Regions from separate parts of the Homo sapiens genome. Here region 2 is linked to region 1. Evidence: promoter capture Hi-C in 16 types of primary human blood cells and fetal thymus (Javierre and others, 2016). All regions are on one chromosome and are shown on one strand. Each heading gives the region's core, a stretch centred on a gene start or on the middle of the fragment in contact. The rest is flanking DNA. Distances are from core to core; before and after follow the strand shown.

What was found. Contacts are between HindIII fragments. The CHiCAGO score rates a contact against its expected background, and 5 or more counts as called.
Region 2: a contact is called between a fragment that was not itself captured here and the fragment with the promoter of STAT4 in region 1, in 2 of 17 cell types (total CD8 T cells and naive CD8 T cells). The highest score is 6.8, in total CD8 T cells.

What each region holds. Positions count from the first base shown.
Region 1 is chr2:191,149,183-191,152,988 of GRCh38, reverse strand. STAT4 (signal transducer and activator of transcription 4) reads left to right here and starts at 1,995. Exons shown (of 24, transcript NM_003151.4): 1 at 1,995-2,042. RefSeq lists enhancers at 1,576-1,655, 1,786-1,835 and a silencer at 2,306-2,355. The HindIII fragment of the contact is 5,548 bases long and covers 1-2,117 here.
Region 2 is chr2:191,683,436-191,686,827 of GRCh38, reverse strand. It overlaps NABP1 (nucleic acid binding protein 1), which reads right to left. Exons shown (of 6, transcript NM_001031716.5): 4 at 3,024-3,099; 5 at 2,532-2,598; 6 at 1-1,229. The coding sequence ends at 1,060. Among named protein-coding and RNA genes, the nearest start is that of NABP1, 7.0 kb to the right of the region's middle. The HindIII fragment of the contact is 6,591 bases long and covers 1-3,392 here.

The DNA of each region.
Region 1 (3,806 bases), core at 746-3,245:
GAATGTGGCTAGTCCTAACTGACATGCCCTGTAAGTGCTAAATATACACCAGACTTCAGAGATTGAGTATGAAATAAGGAATGCAAAGTATCTTATTGATAATTTTTTATATTGATTATATGCCAAAATGTTAAGATTCTTGTATATATTGGGTTATTTACAATATTAAAATTAATTTCACCTGTGCTTTTTTCCTTTTTAATATGGCTATGAGAAAATTTACAATTACATATGTGGCTTACATTTTATTTCTCTTGGAGAGCGCTGGTTTGGACAGGAAGTATGAAGAATTTGGAGCAGGGAAACATTGCTGTGGGTTCAGGTCATCGGGAAGTCTTCACTGAGAACTATAGGATTTCACTAAGTAGGTAGGCTCAGGGAGGAATATCCAGTTGAAGAAAGCCTCGGTAGTGAAATATGAGGTTAATCTGGGCAGCTGAGGTGACTGCTTGGGTCACATCATGGGCTCTTATAGGGGAGAAAAGTTTCCTGGATAGGTTGGGACCAAACTGTACAGAACTTAAACTGCCAAGAATTTGGATTTTTTTCCTATAGGCAGTGACAGCTTCTCCAGAAGAAAATCAGACTTTGCTTAGTAGCTTATGGAATAGCCTGAAATTGGCACTTTCTTATGTAGGGTCAGAGCAGCATAAGCTCCTGGAAACTGCCTGCTCAACAAGCAGTGGGGACCAGGCCTACCTAACCAGGAAATTTACAGTGATATGGAAAGTGTGACTTTGGATTGATTGACCTATTTGGGGGTGGGTGGTAAGTTTAAGCACATGATAATGTCACCTGGGAGAGAAGAATCCAGAGGGTGTACCTGTGTGAAACCCGTCAGGGAAGAGGGAGGCAGGCCTTTCACCTTGGTATATTGCTCTAAGCATGTGTATAACCAAATTGAGTGACACTTTCTACCTTTCTTTCAGTCTGTCTGTCTGTCTTTATTTTTGTCTTTGTTTTACTATTTTTACTTTCTTAAACATTTTTATTGATTTTTTAATATACGGTGGGATTTTACTGTGTTGCCTGGGCTGGTCTCAAACTCCTGGGCTCAAGGAGTCCTTCCACTTCAGCCTCCCAAAGTGCTAGGATTACAGGTGTGAGCCACACGCCTGGACTTCTCTTTATTTTATTGAACCCCTACTGTGAATCAAGGGGTTAAGAGCTAACTACAAGGAGATGAAATGAAAAGACCACTGAAGTGGGAAGGGAAACACCTGGGCTATTATCGGGCTCCGTGGCTAACTTATTGAGTCCTCTTGGTCACCTCACTGGGTCTCTTCAGATATGAAAGAGGATTTAGCATTAGATGGGACCAAGACTTCCTCCAACTCTGTGATTCTAGAACAGGCTGATGTCACAAAGGGAGAAGAACGCACCGTAGCAACCAGGGGCAAGGCTACTCAAGGAGAGTAGGAGGAGGCTAGGTCAGGAAGGGCAAGCACTGGTGGCCTACCCAGGACTTGGCCCAACCCTCTGGGTCAGGTCACCCTCGTCGGAGTGAGCGGACCCCGCTGGAATTGGAGCCCAGTAAGGTCTATGAGTTTGGTGTTTTGATCCTGGCTACCCATCCCTTCCATCCCAGGGGTGGTTCACCAGGCTGAGTGGAGCCTTATACTAGGGAGAGAGGAAGCTGAAGAACTGGGCTCCAGGTAAGTAACTCTGCAGAGGATCTCAGATTGTCTAAGGAAACCACTGAAGAAAATGTATGCCCCGCCCCTCCCCTTTTTCCTGGCACTGCTGAGCCACCTGCAGTTGCGAGAGCCGCTGGGAGGGATAAGAGGGAAGAGGACGCCCGGTGAAGGGGCTCCAGCCTGGCAGTTTCTGCGTGTTAGCATTTCTAGAATAGAGTGGGTGGGAACTGACCCAAGTAAAGTCCCAGAGACTCGAACACTGACGCACAGGAAAGCCTCAAGTGGGAGGAGAAATGCAAATCCCCTACTGATGATGGCGTCAGCGGCTTTCTCCTAGGGACTGTGAGGGGCGCTTCTGACTTTGGACTTGAGCACTGCCTGGGACCTGTGCTGAGAGAGCGCTAGGTAAGTGGCCAGACCACACCTTCTGGCTGCCTCTTGTAAGGAGGACATGCTTATTATGCAGGATACTCTGAAGCTTTGCTTTCCCTTGGCGTTTTGACAATTGCTTCATTTTAACCTTCCTGAGGAGGCTTATTATAGAAGGAAGCGCCCGACTCCACGACCCACAGATGCGCCCTGGCACGGGTTCTCCGCGGAAACCGCTCCGCAGGCCCGCGCCACGGTGCCCGGGCGAATCTCCCTGCGGGGGCCAGGGGAGCTGCGGCGGCTGCGGAGGTGTGTCCTCGCGGAGGCTGAAAGTGAGCCCCTCTTCACTTTCTTAGCCAGCTTCTCTAGAGCTGTGATGTCTGACTTTAGATTAGCGTACCTGGATTTCAGAAAAAAGCTTGCAGCTACGGCAGCCGGTGACTGTGGCTTTGATGGGCGCGAGTGACATTTTAGGGCAGGTCATCTCCTTTTGCAAGCTACAGGCCACAGAGCCAAAGCGGCACCACCAGCTCACAGACGGTGGGACAAAATGCCCCTTTAGTGGGATCTTCTAGGAAATGCACGCAAAAAGGACAGACAGGCACTGAGTTTTCAGAAGCAACGTCACAGTTTTCATGAGAAAGAAGTAGCCCCTAGAGAGTGAAAGCAAAGAAACCTGCTGAAGGATGTCTAAAGGCGTTCCCAGAGGCTGCAATAGAAAATGTCCTAGGACTATGTATTCCTTCTTCTTCCTTTTTTCAGCTTTGAATTCAGCTCTCCGAAAGACTCAGATCTTAGTAGTGATTTTTTTCGGTGTTTATTTTTATTTTTTTTAATTTTCCTTTTATTTTCATTTGACACACAATTGTAAATATTTATGGAATATACAGTGATATTTCAATAAATATGAACAATGTGTTATGATCAAAGGATATTCAGCATATCCATCACCTCAAACATTTATCATTACTTTGTGTTGTGAACATTCAAAATCCTCTTAGCTTTTTGAAAATATACACTAAGTTATTGTTAACCATATTCATCCTAGTGTTACAGCACTAGAACTTATTCCTCCCATCTACCTGTAAGTTTTAGTTAGAAAATAGATTTTTCATCCAAATCATAGCGGGGGTTTAACAATAGTATGATGAAAAACTGTAATGCTATTTTCAACTCATGTTCTCTGTTGTCATTAACTAAAATAAATTGATAGATAGGACAATGTTGATAGTAGCATGAGAACAAATGTTCCAATTTTGTGTGGAATATATACACATCCGATGGAATATATATACATCCGATATCTGGAAAAACAAATGGTTCAGACTCAGGAAACCTCAGGTTGTCCCTTAGAAGCCTCACACATTAGGCAGGCGTCATTTCGCCTATTTGATCTTCAAGTTTTTCCTTTTTAAAGTTGACATACTACTTATATCCACCTACCATATTCATAGCAATGTCAGGAGTGCCACTCATTCTTCATTTAACAAGCATTGATTGAGCATTTACAATATGCCTAGAATTGTAAAGTGTAAAGGTTTTCATAAATATAAAATGATATGCAAATAAAACATTACTTCTTTTCCCACTTGCTTTCTCTTTAGCAAAACATTGGCAACACGTTTTTTTATAAATTTTAAGTCATTTACCAGGAGCTCAGGGAAAAGGTGCTCAAAATGATTCTACTTAAAACCCAAAGAATATGTATATGAAATATATGAAATTACCCTGGTGTTCTATAGGCAAAAGGAAACCTTAGCCTATCTATGAGATATGTTGAAATGTTATGGTGATTAATCA
Region 2 (3,392 bases), core at 651-3,150, 530 kb before region 1:
CATAAATTCCACTTTTATATTTCTGAATAAAGCTGCAATTGCTTCTTTGATAGAGCCATTTCTTAAAACTTTTGCTAATAAGGCTATGTGAACTGTGTTCAGAAACTTTGACAACATGCACACTCACTCCTCTCAAAGTCAGTACCCAGGATTTTCACTCCAGGCTGAGTACCTATTAAGTAACTAGGACTTCAGACTGCATGTTACTATATGAATTCAATTTGACTCACCTCCAGTATGTTTATCTACCACAACTATTGTTTAAAATAATCAGATGAATGTTTATCATAACTTTATAACTCCCCCAAATTATACTTCAGTATTTAACATGGTAGTTTCAAAAAATAAATATTCAAGGCCCCAGTTTTAAATTTTCCTCCAATGTAATCCACAAAGTTGATAATACATGTTAGGAGCACTACTCTAAAATAAATGTAGCTTTCTTTTAAAATTACTTGTTGCAATAGAGATCACATTCTATTCCAAATTCTGATAAGGAATCTGTTTTTTTGGTAATACAACAAAAATTTGGGATGAGTCAGTCCTTGGAAAATCTTAATAGTAGTCACTGAACGAAGTCAATCATTCCGAGAGCCACAAACACTCAAAAATTACTGCTAGCATTGACAAGTTCTTGTGTTTTTTGATGGTTATTGCTTTAGTTGGCAATATCTGAATACAAGACAAAAGAACATCTCCCATTAAGCCTTATGTTAAATATTACAAAACTTATACAGAAGATAGACTCATAGAGGCTATAAAGCTGATGTCTTAAGTAACTCACCCATGAAATGGGTGCAGGTTTTTTAAAGGCTATCCAATAATCTTTTTACTCTAAAAATAAATGCCCCTACTTTTCAGTGTTCCCATTCTTCAACAGGAGACTCGAGCAGCTTAACAGTTTTGCTATAAAAACAAACCATTCTTCTTAACAAACCAAGAATATAAAAGGAAACCCAATAAAGGACGTACTTTTCACAGTTAACAATAAATAAAAGTGCAATAAGTGTTCAAGTAGGGCATGTAGTATAAAAACTACACATGAGTATTTAGCATAGGTCATCTTTTAAAGGCTCTCCGAGGGTCCCTGCCATTACTTATTGTGGTCATCACTGTTTGATTACTAGCTGTTCCTTGTAGTTGTGGATTTATAAGTCCCCGGCCATTGCTTCTGCCAGCATGTGAAAACTGGTGTTCCCTTGATTCAGGGCCAGTGTGAACACCATTTCCTAAAAAAGAATACAAAAATTCATCACTATTTTCAGAGGTAGTCTATAGAAGTAGAACTATCTTAAGTGCCAACATGTTATTAATGCTTAAAAATATTAAAGCACACACTTTTATTTTTATACAGAAAAAAAAAACAATGTGGGCTCTAAGTTTTTCCAAATGTATTGCTATAAATATGCTAACTTGATGCTGTATTAATAGAGAGAAAAAAGCCAACTTGGGCATCAAAATTAGAAATTAATAGAGTAAAAAAATGCATTGCCTACACTATAAAAGAAAAAGAAAGGGCAAAATAGTGAATATTGGAATTTGGCTCAAATATGATTAATATCTCAAAACAGACAATGTTATTCTAACTTTTTAAAGGCAAAGGCAGCGTTTCCCACAATGTGATCAGCAATGCCAAGACATGTAGCCTTCGAGTCAAATAAAACATGAGCTGGCCAGGTTCAGTGGCTCACGCCTGTATGTAATCCCAGCACTTTAGGACGCCGAGGCAGGTGGATCATTTGAGGTCAGGAGTTCGAGACTAGCCTGGCCCATATGGTGAAATCCCATCTCTATTAAAAATATAAAAATTAGCTGGGTGGTAGTGGTGCACATCTGTAATCCCAGCTACTTGGGAGGCTGAGGCAGGAGAATCACTTGAGCCTGCGAGGTGGAGGTTGCGATGAGCCAAGATCACGCCACTGCACTCCAGTCTGGGCAACAGCGTAAGACCCTGTCTCAAAAACAAAACAAAACCAAAACATGAGCCATCCTAATGAACTCTAATCACAAAAGACTGACTTTTCCTCATATATTTAAGAAAAAAGACTTCAGAAGACCTTTAACAGAGCTACAAGGATCATGAACATGATGTCTGGGGGTCATGTTAAATGACATCTGAGGGTCACTAGCCTTTAAACGGCTCAGCTCATCTTTTAAAGCAGCAGCTACTTGTATGTGAAAAATTAAGGTGAACTATGACTCTAAAGATAAAACGCTTTCAGTGCACCAAAATAACCAGTAATTCTGCATCTACTATAAGTAATCACTAGATTATAGAAATTTTATAGGAATCAATAAAAAAAAAATAGCATGGTATCTCTTCACGGACATCACAAAAACTTAGAATTCTCAATAAACTGGCTTAAGTTTATCAACTTTCTAGAAAATCAGCCCTTTGGGGATTCCCTGTTTACTGGTAGTTCACCTTTATCACTAATTTATGCCTAAAGACGTTGCTTTTCACGTGAATCTTTACAGCTCTCTTCATTCTTATACCTGATCACAAATGAAACACACAAACAAAATCTTACCCACTGGTCCAAATGTACCTGTACCCATATTACTATTCATGGAATTATTCTTCTGTTCACTCTGTGCCTAAAAAAAAGTTTTTAATTTAACCAAACGAGAATAAAAACACAATTATATTATTACAACATTATTATATCCTTTCTTTTTTAAAGTTTTGGGTTTGGCTTTTTTTTTTTTTTTAATTAACAAATTTTTTAAAGATTTTTCCTAGGTCATTAAAGGTTATAATGTTAAGAAACGTTTCCCAAACCTTTCAGAGCTCTGTTACATCCTATTTCCTGATAATTACTCAGCACACCACAAAGTGCAAAATGGCACATATATCTAGTAGATGACACCTCAGATACATATCCTCACAAAACATACAATAAAAATTAAGTATCCTTTTAAAAATTATCTTCTTTATACTAAGTATCAACAGGGCTAGCCTAATCATAGAATTATAACACAGTCAAAATTAGCCTAATCATAAAAGTATACTACACAATTACCCCTTTGTTCTGCTGTCCTCGATAATCTGGGTTGGGTTCACTGAAATTTGGCACTTCTGAATAAACCATACAAAATCTGAAAGAAAATAAAGAAAAAATTAAATGACTTCTGAAATAAAGTCCTCAACCCTTCTTTATGTAACATCTCTAACTTTTAGGAATGAACTTATGTGTCAAACAAATTAATAGCAACAAACTAACTCTTCATTTACAACAAAAACTTCCCAAATGATTATGTCCCATAAAACATCAAATATTTGACTGTCTACAAGATATATAACATTCTATTTTGTATTTAAATTCTTCTTTAGTGCTGAAAAAAAAATCACATCAAAAATCAAGGACACAAAAACATCTCTGTCCTGTTTT